Linked DNA regions of Homo sapiens: all the other regions are linked to region 1. Evidence: promoter capture Hi-C in 16 types of primary human blood cells and fetal thymus (Javierre and others, 2016). All regions are on one chromosome and are shown on one strand. The core of a region is centred on a gene start or on the middle of the fragment in contact, and the rest is flanking DNA. Distances in the headings are between cores, read along the strand shown. Region 1 holds the start of GPR3 (G protein-coupled receptor 3). Region 2 overlaps AHDC1 (AT-hook DNA binding motif containing 1). Region 3 overlaps AHDC1 (AT-hook DNA binding motif containing 1).

Region 1 (4,341 bases), core at 1,228-3,727:
GGAATGGCTTTATCTGCAGCAATGGTGAAGATTTTTCACCAGAGGATCAATAAGCTACGAAAACTTAAAAAATATATAATTGCCATTCAGAGTAGTAGAAGATAGTCCCTGATACCCCCCTTTGATGCCAACCTCCCAGCAGCCTTCACCCATCGCAGAGACCAGAACTCTGTAGGGACCCAGCTCTGATGGGGGAGTAAATGGATCCCTGACCCTGAGTCTTGGGGCCCTGATGCCCTTGGATCCTCTCTCTGACACCCCCACCTTCCTGGGCACCAGGCATATTACTATTCTCTCTGTTTTCCTTTTTTCCTCTGGTTGTTCCCTTTTAGGTCAATCATCCAGTCCATGATTATTTCTTCAATACCCATTACATATCAGGCACTGTTCTCTAGCAGAAATGGGACATAGTCAGTATCCTCTTGGAGCTTAGATTCTAGTGGGGCTGACATGTAGTAAAACAAACAAACATGAATTCATTTATAATTTCAAGAGTGCTTCATCCTCCAAAAATGAATAAATCAAGAGAAGGGGAGGGAGAGTGATGGGGAGGCCAGTGGCGATCTGAGAGTTCAGAGCAGCCTGTTTCAGAAGTAATTCGGGAGCAGAGACCTGGATGAAGAGAAGGGTTGTTGTCAGAGGGGTCAGGTGCAAGAGCCCAGGAGGAGGAGCCCCTGAAGCCACTCCTCACTCTCTGCTCCCGCCCCTGGGTGACATTATTTACCCCTAAAACATCAGTTGCCACCTGCATGCCTACACCTCCCAGGTGTCCCTCATTATCCAGCTGTAACATTGATGGCCAATGGCAAGTAGAACCCACTCAACAACCCCATGAGGCCGGTACTAATATTATCCCTGTGTTTTAGATGAGGAAATAGGCACAGAGAGCTGAAGAAACTCTCCAAAGTCACCCAGCTAGGAAATGGAGAAACTGAGATTGGACACTTCCACCCCCTAAGCCCCCTAAACTCACCACATCCAACCTGAAATGAATCCTCTTCTCCAGCTCCGACCCCCTCCTCCTCCCATGTTCCCTGCCACTTGACCTTCTGCTGCCTCACACTCAAACCCAAAACCTGCCTGGTGGAGGCTGACCATGGGGGCTGCAGTGATGGTGCTGTGATGGGGGTGTCCAGTGGGGCCTGGGATCCTCAGGCCTCTTAACCTCATCTTCCCCTCCCACAGGCCTGCATGATTCCAGGGAGCATCAAGGCAAGAGACACAGGGAGAAGGAGCAGCCAGTCCCCCTGCCGCAGGACTGGCCACATCTGTCACATCTGGAGAAGTCTGCCCAGAGTGGTTCCCCTGGACTAAGGGCAGATGGCGTTGGGGAAGAGGGAGCTCTTTCTCCTTGCTCCACCCATCAGGATGCCTAAAATAGGAGGCTGAGAGGGGCCTGCCCTGAGGACTGAGCTGCCAGGCTTTCTGCTTCCAAGTTCTTCCCGGCTCCCCATCTCCTCCTGCTTCAGGGAAGTGCACCCCTCACCCCCTCCACGCTGGCTTTCTAGATACTGGAATAAATAATTCAGGTTTTGAAATCTTGCCAGGCCCACCCCTCCGGTGCTGTGAGGGCGCTATTGGGCTGACATGAGTGACGTCACCCAGCTCTTATCCCAGCCCCGGCATCACGGGACTTGCCCTGGCAGCAACTTACCTGCCTGGTCACTGTCAGTCCAGACCCTCTACCCTGTGCCCCTCACCCTGGAGCCCACTCACCACAGCCACCTGCTATCTTCGTTCCAGGGCCCCACAGTCCTCATGGCTTAGCATTGTCGCTTCAGTACCCCAGCCATTCTGACAGGGTAATGGTGACCTGAAGTCACCTGGACACTCCATGTTCCCAGGCCGCTGCCTCTGCCATCCCGGGGTCCCTGAACTCCCCCCTGCTGCATAGTCACCCTGACACTGCCATGGTTGCCCTGAGGGCTTCCCCTCTACCGTTAGCGTCCCACGGCCATCACCCCCCACCCCAAGATTCTGTCACCATGCTAATGTCGTCACTGCCACCCACCTCCCCGCTCCCTCGTGCTCCCTGTCATCGTCACCTCAGGGCCCCATCATCTTGGAAACCCTGTCATTCTCACCAGGGAAGCCCAACCAGCCCCATCACAAGCTCTTCCTTCGTCACCTGGATCTCGTCAGCCTCTCTGCCACCCAAGGGTCCCATCACCCCACAGCCTAGCCGGGCCCCCTTTCCACTCTTCCACCACGTTCCCTGCAGCCTCTCTGAGACTTCAAGGCTCTCGCACCGGCGCCTCTGAAACCCCCGGCCCGCAGAGGGCGCCGCGTCAAGGACAGCGCGGGCGGACTCGGGAGGGGGCGGGGCCGCAGCCACGGTCGCTTTTTATGAATGGGGGAGCGGGCGGTGCGAGGCCTTATTACTATGCCGCGCAACGCGCGCTGCGCCCCAGCGCGCCGCGCCCATTGGCTGATCGGACCGCTGACGTCACCGAACCGGTGGCCGGGGGCGGGGCGGGGTGACTCACGCCGCTTCTCCCGCGGCCGCGGGGGCTTCTCGGGGTCCACGCACGCCCTGCGCCGCCAGGACCCGAGCGGAGCCTCCCCGCGGCCCGGCCGCGCCTGGTCCTGAGCGGTGAGTAGCGGGCCCCGCCGCGGGCACCAGGGGTCCTGAAGGGCACGCAGGATGCTGGGGCACTGGGCCGGCGGAAGGCTCCTAGTGGCCGGCCGGGGTTCGAGTTCGAGGTGGGAATTCTGGGTTTAGGCGATTCTGGGTTAGCAGGCTTGGGCCCAAGTGCTCGAGTGCTGGGGTTGAGTTGGATGACCCGGCGAAGGGTAAGCATTCCTGCAGGGACCCGAGGCCCTGGAGGGACTGATGGTCATCTGAGGTTAAGCCGGCAGGAGGCGTCTGGGGCAGGGACCCAGGGGTCCGAACAGCAGGAGGTGTCCAATTTAGGAATCCAGGTATCCAGGCAGGAGGCAGAGTCAGGCCCAAAATCCAGGTGTCCGGGCAGAAGGAGGCATCTGACTCAGGGATCCAGTCTTCCAGCAGGGGGGTCTGCCCAGAGACCTAGAGATTCAGGCGGAAAGAAGGGTCCAGCCAGGAACAGAAGTCTGGGAGGGTGGGGGGTGGGGGGCTGAGTTCCCAGGTGTTACCGCGGGAGTGCGGGGTGATGGCTGGCGGGAGCTTCACGCGCATTCCCTGGGGGCGGAGTCTAAGGCTGGCAGTACTGAAAATCGTGAGGGGTCTGGGAGCCTCAGGCACGAGCTAGCATCATCATCTCTGATGGGAGGGAGCGGAGCTGCTCAGTCTCCCTGATGGGGTAGATGTTTCCCTACCCCAATCTTGAGCCTTCGGGGGCATCCCCTGGATCCTATGGCCCTCTTCCACTTATAGTACCCCTTCTTCTGTCTCTCCTCTGGTCACACACGTGGGAAAAAGAGACCTGCAGGACCTAGGACAGGGATCCCCAGGAAGAGACCCCTGTTTAGAGGCCTGGGGGCATTGGAGGGGACAGCGGTATCCTGGGAAGAGCCCCAGGGCATGAATGTGGGGATAAGGCATTGGGACCCTATCAGGTATCCTGAGGAGAGACTCCCACCACGTATCCTGAGAAGCACCTCACCCCCTCCAGACCCCAACTCCCATCACCCAGCTTGGTCAGCTTCTCACAAGGCCTTTCTCCTGCAGGTACCATGATGTGGGGTGCAGGCAGCCCTCTGGCCTGGCTCTCAGCTGGCTCAGGCAACGTGAATGTAAGCAGCGTGGGCCCAGCAGAGGGGCCCACAGGTCCAGCCGCACCACTGCCCTCGCCTAAGGCCTGGGATGTGGTGCTCTGCATCTCAGGCACCCTGGTGTCCTGCGAGAATGCGCTAGTGGTGGCCATCATCGTGGGCACTCCTGCCTTCCGTGCCCCCATGTTCCTGCTGGTGGGCAGCCTGGCCGTGGCAGACCTGCTGGCAGGCCTGGGCCTGGTCCTGCACTTTGCTGCTGTCTTCTGCATCGGCTCAGCGGAGATGAGCCTGGTGCTGGTTGGCGTGCTGGCAATGGCCTTTACCGCCAGCATCGGCAGTCTACTGGCCATCACTGTCGACCGCTACCTTTCTCTGTACAATGCCCTCACCTACTATTCAGAGACAACAGTGACACGGACCTATGTGATGCTGGCCTTAGTGTGGGGAGGTGCCCTGGGCCTGGGGCTGCTGCCTGTGCTGGCCTGGAACTGCCTGGATGGCCTGACCACATGTGGCGTGGTTTATCCACTCTCCAAGAACCATCTGGTAGTTCTGGCCATTGCCTTCTTCATGGTGTTTGGCATCATGCTGCAGCTCTACGCCCAAATCTGCCGCATCGTCTGCCGCCATGCCCAGCAGATTGCCCTT
Region 2 (4,820 bases), core at 12-2,511, 140 kb after region 1:
CAATTGCTGGTTTTGTGCAGAAAGGGCTCACCTTCGGCTTCTGCGTGGAGGAGATGGGTGGGAGGGGGTGGAGGGAGATGGGTCTGCAGGGGGTGTAGGGGGCAGGGTGGGAGGCAGAGGGGCAGGAGCTCCTGCCAGAGGACGATGTGGACGCTGGGAGGGATCTTGGCGTTGGTTTTCTGAAAGCTGCAAAGAAACACAAGAGAAGAGGCAGGAGTGAGCGGCACGCATCGACTGTGCTCTGAGATCAGGGAAGTGAAGAGGGAGACCCCCACCCAGCTCCTCCCAGGATTCAGCAGGGTGAGGGGGAAAGCTAACCACTGTTCTTTCTCACAAAAACTCAGACCTGCCTTCTCTGAGCCCAGTTTCCCCATCTGTAAAATATGCGTGTCCAAGCCCCAAAACACAGGGTGAAGCAGGTGCTGGGTGAGGAGGTGGGGTTCCAGGCAGTGGAATTTGTTAAGAGCTTGGGCTCTGGAATCAGACACAGCTGAGTTCAAATACCAGTGCCACCCTTTAGTAGTGCTATGACCTTGGGCATGTTGTTGAACTTCTGTGAGCCTCAGTTTGCCCATCTGTAAAAAGAAGATAACTGAACTACCCCATTGGTTTGCTGGGAGGATTCAGCGGTATAGGACAGATGAAGCCTGGTCCTTAAGTGCATAATAAATTATACTGATTATTATTCATTATTATTTTTCTGGGGCAGTTAGGCTCTCCAAACCTGCCTCCTCATGTCATGATGAGTTTAGTAATTCCTCCAACTTAGGCTGTTCTGAGGAATGACATCATGGGGAGGGCAGGGCCTCAGCACACAGCACAGGTGTGAACAACTGCTTTTATTTCTTCTAAATCCAATCCTCTTCTTACCAATGCCATTCTGTTCCTTAGAGAGGTGAGGTGAGGAGGAAGTCTTTCTCAGTGAAAGAACAGAGAAACTGCCCAACACAATGCCATCTGTGTTTGGCTTAACCCTGCCTTCCTGAAGCTCAGACACTCCCAAGTTCCCAGTTCCTCCCATCGCCAGACACTCGAGATTGGAAGTACCCCTTTTTCCCAGACAGTTCTCATTATGCTTGCGGGGCCCTGGGGATCTGACTTCCCTACCCAGACCCCCAGCTTGGCTAGACCCCCTGGATTCACAGCTCTGCTAGGGTGAGTGAGAAGGTCCCCTGAAGGACAGGGATGGGCTCGGGACTTCCTAAGAGCTCCAGTCATTATTAGCCTGGTCCTTTCAGACTTCTGTCCTCCTCTCAGAGCCCCGAGACACACATCTCCCACCCTCAGTGTGCGACCATCTCCATCCGAATTAAAGGGCGAGGTGAGGATGCTGAAAGGGCCTCCTCAGGTTCCTTAGGAGCCCATCCGTCCTCCCCCACACCAGCAGGAATCAGGCGGCGGCAGAAAGCCTCTCCTCCCTTGTACTTTCTTGGCTTCCCTTTCTACCAGAGCCACATTTAAATTCTGCTCAGCCTCGGCTGCTGTCTGCTGGGCAGTCAGCCCCGGGGACGACTTTTGTCCTGAGGCTGGACTTGCCAGGACTCCCCCAAGGTCCAGGGGAACCAGGTGGGCTCCTGCAGAGGCAGGGCAGCACCTCATCCTGGTGGACCAGACCAGGTGGCAGGCAGAGGCATAGGAGAGGAGAAGAGCTGCATCTTTGTTAAGCTGTCAGGTTGCCTGCAGTTGCAGGAGGATGGAATACTAGCCGTAGGGGCGAGCGGTGTGCCTGGGAGGGTGACAGCTGTGCTGCAATGGGGTGATAGGTAGAAAAGCAGCTCTTGGGGCAAGGGCTGCTGCTGGGATGAATGCAAGCTCTCCACAGTCAGGCGGTAAACAGGCTGCAGAGACAAGAGGGGTGTCTATTAGGGAGCAGAATGATTTTATCTGGGGTAACTGCTTGAGCCAGAGCGCTGGGGGCATCTATCCAGAGGACTGCTCTATTGCGGTTGAAGAACAGTTGCCAAGCTAAAGAACCTCTGTTGGGGTGTTGGGGGTGACAAGGGAAGGGGACTTTAGGATGGGCTGCTCCAAACCACTGGCAAACTGATATTGTCCAACGCCAGCCTCCCCTGCTCCCTCCAAGGGCCCCGGGGCAGGCTGGGAGCCTCTGCACAAATCCCTGCACCCCCACCCCCACCCCAGGCCCTTAGCCACTGCCAGTGACCCTCTCTAAGCCAGGTCTCCATGGTGATCTCAGCCCAGCAGGCGGCTCCTGCCAGAACCATTCCCGCGGTGCCTGCGGCCAGGCAGCAGGAGGCTTTCTCACCCTCTGCTAAGCCGCCCATCGCGTCTCACCTTCCTCCTCCCACTACCCTCCCCAGCTTTCAGGACTTGGCCAGCCAGAGACTTTGGCAGAATCTTCGGGATGGGAAGGAGCGGGGGAGGGGGGAAATCAAAGCCCAAAAGCCCCAGGGTTCTCTCATGGAGGTGGGGGAGAATGCTGTGGCTGTGTGGAACCCTGACCTCACCAGGTTCAGCTCTCCACAAAGCAGGACCAGACACTAACGTGCCAGGCAGCCCAGTGCTAGGCACTGGGGACAAAGCAGAGACCAAGACCGATCTGGTTCCTGTCTTTGAGAGGCTCACAGATAGAGGGGAAAGCAAAGCAGACCCCAAACCAGGGTAATTACCACGCAGGGAGACAGGGGCTGTGCCACGGAAGGTCCTGGGGAGGCAGCTAACCTGGTCGTGGCAGGAGAGACTGTGGCTCTTCAACCACTGCTGAACACTACCCAGCACATGCTGGGGCCAAGACGTACGCTGACTGAGTGACAGAGCGGGGACTGACCTGAGTCTGGTCAGCATGTCAAGGTCCAGCTCCGGCCTTGCACACCTTCAGAACACCTCCTTAGACCACCCTGTTACCATAGCTACGGTACCCTTGTCATCCCGACCTGGCTCCTCCAGGGCAGGAACCTATATGTGGTACTGCTGCACACCCAGGGCTAGCACGCACCGGCCCCCAGCACACCAACCACTGTTCTGCAGACTTCACCTTTTAGTGCCTCCGTGACACACAACTGCAGAGCCACATTCCTCTGAGTCCTCATGCTCCGGTGGTTTCACCATCTGAGGTGCCAGGGCATTAAGTGGTCTCTGCCTGTCAAGGGGGGGACTGGCACTGGCAGCAGTGAGGGACAGCTGAGCAGAGATTCAAAGTGCTGCAGAGCACATATAAATCAGGTTGTCCAGAGGGGGCTGCTCTCCTCCAAAAAGGAAAAGGAATATATATTTGTGCTTTCATTTAAGTGAACAGCAAACATGTATTCATGCCCACTGGCTGCCAGGGCATGAGTTAAGGTCTAACCTCTACTCTCTAGTCTCTACTCTCTTGAAAGGGTCCAATGTCAAACAAGGCAGTAGAGCAGAAGGCAAAAAAGAGTGCATGAGGCCGGGCAGGGTGACTCACGCCTGTAATCCCAGCACTTTGGGAGGCCGAGGTGGGTGGATCTCTTGAGCTCAGGAGCTCAAGACCAGTCTGGCCAACATGGAGAAACCCCGTCTCTACAAAAAATACAAAAACTAGCCAGGTGTGGTGGCACACACCCTGTAACCCCAGCTACTCGGGAGGCCGAGGCATGAGAATTGCTTGAACCCAGGAAGCGGAGGTTGCAGTGAGCTGAGATCGTGCCACTCCACTCCAGCCTGGGTGACAGAGCAAGACTGTCTCAAAAAAAAAAAAAAAAAACCAGAAAAGAAAAAGTGCATTAGAATTTGAGAGGCTGATTTCCTGTGTGACCCAGAGTAAGTCCCTTCCCTCTCTGGGCTTCAGGTTTTTTTGGTTGTTTTTTGTTTTTTTTTTGAGACAGGTTCTCACTCTATCACCCAGGCTAGAGTGCAGTGGCACAATCACGGCTCACTGCAACCTCCACCTTCCAGGCCCATGAGATCCTCCCATCTCAGCACCTTGAGTAGCTGGTACTACAGGCGCACATCACCACACCTGGCTAATTATTTTATTTTTTGAAAAGACAAGGTTCCATCATGTTGCCCAGGCTAGACTCGACCTCCTGAACTCAAGCAAACCACCTGCCTTGGCCTCCCAAAGTGCTGGGATTACAGGTGTGAGCCACTGCAGCAGCCTGAGTTTCTATTCTATAAAATAAGGGAGCTGAACAGGTGATGGGAGAGATCTTCCGGCACTGGGATGGTGCCCCAAAGACAAAGGGTCACAGGCAAACCACAGAGGCCCAAAGCCTGATCCATCCCTGTAACATTTTTAGGCAGCCAGGCCTGTGAGTCATCTCCATGTGGAGAGGATACTGCTTCCTGGGGGCTCAGCCCACAACTGGTATGCAGAAGTACCGTTGGACCTGGAATTCACTGAATTATCGATGAGGCTCCCAATCAGGGATGGGGAGGCTGTGTTTGTGTCTCCCTCTACTCCAGAGAAGCTTTTTTTCTTTTCTTTTTTTTTTTTTTTTTTGGAGATAGGGTCTCACTCTGTCACCCAGGCTGCAGTGCAGTGTCATGATCGAGGGTCACCGCAGCCTCAAACTCCTGGGCTCAAGCGATCTTCCCACCTCAGCCTCCTGAGTAGCTGGGACTACATGTGCATGCTACCACATCTGTCTAGTTTGTATTTTTGTAGAGATGGGGTCTTACTATGTTGCCCAGGCTGGTCTCAAACTCCTGGGCTCAAGCGATCCTCCCACCTCGGCACCCCAAAGTGCTGGATTGCAGGCGTGGTGAGCCACCATGCCAGGCCTGGAGAATTTTTTTTTTGTTTGTTTGAGATGGAGTCTTGCTCTGTTGCCCAGGCTGGAGTACAGCAGTGCAATCTTGGCTTACTGCAACCTCTGCCTACTGGGTTCAAGCAA
Region 3 (4,426 bases), core at 229-2,728, 190 kb after region 1:
GAAATCAAGGCCCAGAGAGGGAAAGCAGCTCCCAGGGGCTGGGATTTAAACCCAAGCCGTCTGACTCCAAAGTCGGGACGCTCACTGCCCATTCCATCCTCACCATTCCCATCCTTATCTGCTCTGATGCCAACCCCAGGGAGGGACCCTTTCTTTCTCCAGGTATTGGATCTTAGCATCTAGATGGATGCTCACTGAGCCCCTGCTCCAAAGCTAAACCTTCATGTTTTATCTCATTTGAGCCTCACAAAACCCTATAGCATCAATGCCATTATTATTTCCCCTCAACAGGTGAGGAAACTGAGGCTCAGAGAGGAGTCAAGTAACTAAGGACACACAGGATTCAAAGCCCAAATTCTTTAAATGACATGATTTTTTTGCAATGTTTTTCTCTTATTGTTTTATCCCACTGTTGAGAATTGACCACACCTATCAGCCTTGTTTTTCCAGTTAGTTGGGCAGCAAGCTCTCTGAGGCCAACCCTTCCACCTCTCCCATTGGTGGCCAGCACTGTAGCGGGGTGAGCTGTGCTCTATAGAGGCTTCTGAACCACTGATCTGCACACTCCTAGCGAGGCACAGCCTGACACTCTGCCTGTTTCCCCCACAGCACTCTGCCTTATCACCCCATCAAACTTAGTGTTGGGAAGGGCAGGGCTAGGTCTCCCCTTCGGCCTAGACTAGAGGCTCCCCAGAGATGCCTTATCCCCCAGGAATTCAGGGCTCCCATCTCCTACTTAGGGCATCAAGGGGGCAGGACAGGACAGGCGTGGTGGCTCACACCTGTAATCTCAGCACTTTGGGAGGCCGAGGTGGGCAGATCACCTGAGGTCAGGAGTTCGAGACCAGCCCGGCCAACATGGTAAAACCCTGTCTCTACTAAAAATACAAAAATTAGCCGGGTGTGGTGGCAGGCGCCTGTAATCCCAGCTACTTGGTCTGGGCGACATGGCAAAACCTCGTCTCTACTAAAAACACAAAAAATTAGGCAGGTGTGGTGGTGCACACCTGTAGTCCCAGCTACTTGAGAAGAGAATCACCTGACCCTGGGAAGTCGAGGCTGCAGTGAGCCGTGACTGCTCCACTGCACTCCAACCCGGGCAACAGGAGTAAGACCCTGTCTCAAAAAAAAAAAAAAAAAAAAAAGAAGGAACAAATGAACAAACAAGGACTCTGGATCCTAGCCTTCCAAGTTCAAAGGGCGGCTCCACCACATACTGACTGTGTGACCTTGGGCAAGTCACTTTACCTTTTTATGCCTCAGTTTTCTGATATATGAAACAAAGACACTAATAAAAGGGCTGCAATAATAATTAAGTGAAGATCTGTTTATAAAGTTGGAATAGTATCTGGAACATAGTAAACACTATATACATGTTTGTTAAATAAATAAAAGTTGAGCTCCACCTAGCTCTAGAAAGGTTCCTGTGGTAGGGTACAGAGCTAGTGACAAAGCCCCTGTTCCAAACAGATAACTGAAGACACACAAGGAAACGGGAAGAGGTAGCAGAGACTGCACACCTTCGAGAAGCCCCTTGTGGCAGGGACCCCCTCCTCCTCCCCACATCCTCCAGAGGCAGAGGACCCCATTTCCCGGCCTAATCAGTCTTCTGACCTAATCCCCCCACCCTAGTCCTCAAGCCACTTCCCCTCCCCTTCCTCCAACTGTTAACTCTTTCCATGCAATCAGACTGTGGCCAGAATTCAGGCCCTGCTGCTTAGTTGCTATGTGACCCTGGGCAAGTTACTTAGCCTCTCTGAGCCTCAGCCATCTCCTCTATACAAGGGGTTAATCCCCCTGGAGGTCTGTCCTAGGGATTAATGAATAACTGAAATCATACCCCCGGATATGTCCATAGATACTAAGACATGCTGGTGTCCCACAGGCCCGACAATGTGGATGGGCATGCTGTCTGGGCACTGGGGTGGGGGAGAGGGGAAAGGAGCTGCTGTTAAAAACTGACCCCCAACTTCAAAAGTTTCCCCAAGGGTGCCTAAGCGCCATCCAAGGCAAGCTCCCCATCCTTCCAACTACCATCCTATGACATCAAAATACTGTTTCTTGAGAGACAGGCAGGGGCCTCAGGTCAGGCCCCTCATTGCCACAGTCACTACTTCCAAGGCCCTGAAGCAGACCTGGGCGAGAAGAGGGAGGGAAAGGAGGAGCCACAGGTGAGATGGGAGGAGAGGACCCCTGGTGGAGAGGACCCCTGGGATGAGACAGGCAGAAGGGGAGAGGGACAGGCCTCCAAGGACCTCCCTCTCCCCCACAGCTAACCCGGCAATCACCTGGCCCAGCCTTCCACCCATTTGAAAAGGAAGAGGAGCCAGCGGCAGTAGGTTATGATAGGCGATTACCCGTCATTAATTAATTAAAATAAACAGCAGATTAAATACAGCAAAATTAAAATAGCACAGGAAATTAATTCTCTCCTAGCCCTACCTCACAGGTGAGATGCTTAAAGGGGCCCTTGAAGCCAGGATCCAGGGCAGCTTGGGCTGGAGGCGTGTGTCACCAAAACCTGCCTTACACCACAACTCCCGGCAACCCCAAATATCAAAGGCAGAGCCCAGCTACCCATAGGCACCCACCTGGCTCTGCCACCCCAGATTGGCCTCCTGGCTCCTTATCCCCAGGGCACTCCAAGCCCTGCTCCCCAGTCAGTGGGCAGGAAGGGTCCTGACACCCTCTAGGTCGGGGGGTTGGACACTGGGCCACATCTACCACCACACAGGTCAGAGCAGAAGAAAAGAGGCACCCTGGTCCTCTCTTCTGGGTCCCCTCTGGGGCTTGGAGTCAGGTCTCGGCAAGACCCCCCTCTTCTGTGCTGAGGCCCTGGCCCCTCATTTGGAGTGCCCCAAAATCCATCTCTGAGGACCCCTCACTTTCCTCCACTTTTGGCTTAGGATGCTCTGGAAGAAAGTACTGCTGAGGCCCAGAATCCCAAGCCAGAAAAATGCCTGACCCAGTTGGCTAGACCAACCAACCCCTAGGACGTGATGCCAGAATTCCCTCCTACACAAGACTAATCGGCTCATTGCACAGATGGGGAAACTGAGGCCGGGGAAGACAAGGCATTTTGTTTGTGGTCACCCAGTGACCTAGTAGGAGAGCCTGAAGCTGACTCTCTAAGGGGTACATTCCATGTCACACTACAACACTGGATTTTCAGAGGGCGGCTCAGTTCCATGCTGCCCTCTCCCAGCCTAGCCTCTGAGGCCTCGCCTCCATAGGCCCGTTCCACAACTTTCCCTTCTGTCCTACGCAGCAACTGGTTAGACCTCAACCAACCTCAGTTCCTGCCCTCGGCCTTGCTGTTCACCTAGCTTGCTTGGAAGCTCCTTCCCCAACTTCTCCCTGCCCAAATTCTACCAGCCAGCTCAATACCAGTTCCTCCATGAGCCACCCAGAACCCTGACAATTTCCTTTAAGCTTCTGGGGTGGAGGTGAAGGTGAAGACTCACTCTCTGCTGTCTGTGTGATATGGTTATCAGGTGAGCTTTCTGTAGACTAAGAAAAGAGTCTGGGCCCCAGCAGCTGGCACAGTACCCAGCCCTCAGAAGATGCTCAGTAAATCTCTTCATCTGATGTCCCCCCATGTCCAAGTGATAACTGACAATAATGGCTATTATTTATTGAGCAGCTACTACAAGCCCAACACCTGTACTACCCCATCCTTGCACGACGAACCTTGCTCATAGAGGTTGTATGACTTGCCTAAGGTCACTCAGCTCAGGAACTGGAACCCCACTGATCCTTAACCCTAATTGAATCTCCTCTCCATCCTACTCACCACTTCTAGGTTAGACCATCATCTCCCACTTGCACTTCCAAAGCCCCTCAACTAGCCTTCCTGCCTCCAGTCTCTCCCTCCCCTGGTCCTGCCAGCAAAGATTTCCCATAACCCCTTGAAGCCCACTGGATAAAACTGAAGCCCCAGAGCATGGCATCTGCACGCCGTGACATCTGCCTTCTGGCCTCTTTGCAGTGTCTCCTCTGGTCTGTGAACGTCCCTCCGTTTTCTCAGCATAACACACTTGATTCACTTTCAGGCTTTGCATATGCTATTCCCACTGCCTGGAACACCCTTCCACGCTTCCTCTTATGAATTCCTACACATCTCTCAACATCCAAGATCAAGGGTTACTTTACAATGGAGTTGGAAGAGACAGGCAACAAATAGGCTGGTCACAAAACTGAGAGCCTGTGAGGGAAGGGCTCATGTCCATCTTGGTCACCACAGTATCCCCAGGGCTTAACTCATCATCAATGCTCAATCAATATTTGTTGAATGAATCAATGAATGCTCTGTATAGACCTGCTGACTAAACAGAGGAATGACAAAAGAATACAAGGCCACAGCAGGCAGGGCCGGAGATAGACGGGGAGAGACTGAGGCCAGGAAGGGCAAGGACATGGTGAAGAG

Evidence for each region. Contacts are between HindIII fragments. The CHiCAGO score rates a contact against its expected background, and 5 or more counts as called.
Region 2: a fragment that was not itself captured here is called in contact with the fragment with the promoter of GPR3 in region 1 in 2 of 17 cell types (endothelial precursors and naive CD4 T cells); the score reaches 5.8 in endothelial precursors.
Region 3: a fragment that was not itself captured here is called in contact with the fragment with the promoter of GPR3 in region 1 in 9 of 17 cell types (non-activated CD4 T cells, fetal thymus, naive CD4 T cells and 6 more); the score reaches 8.3 in non-activated CD4 T cells.

The regions. Positions count from the first base shown.
Region 1 is chr1:27,390,145-27,394,485 of GRCh38, forward strand. It overlaps GPR3 (G protein-coupled receptor 3), which reads left to right and starts at 2,478. Exons shown (of 2, transcript NM_005281.4): 1 at 2,478-2,593; 2 at 3,650-4,341. The coding sequence starts at 3,655. RefSeq lists enhancers at 1,094-1,630, 1,631-2,167, 2,705-3,240, 4,069-4,341 and a silencer at 2,182-2,681. The HindIII fragment of the contact is 9,449 bases long and covers 1-4,341 here.
Region 2 is chr1:27,534,731-27,539,550 of GRCh38, forward strand. AHDC1 (AT-hook DNA binding motif containing 1) reads right to left here. Exons shown (of 9, transcript NM_001371928.1): 9 at 1-186. Among named protein-coding and RNA genes, the nearest start is that of WASF2, 47 kb to the left of the region's middle. RefSeq lists an enhancer at 2,810-3,411. The HindIII fragment of the contact is 6,262 bases long and covers 1-4,392 here.
Region 3 is chr1:27,584,131-27,588,556 of GRCh38, forward strand. The region is part of intron 3 of AHDC1 (AT-hook DNA binding motif containing 1); the gene reads right to left. Among named protein-coding and RNA genes, the nearest start is that of AHDC1, 18 kb to the right of the region's middle. The HindIII fragment of the contact is 3,903 bases long and covers 1-3,430 here.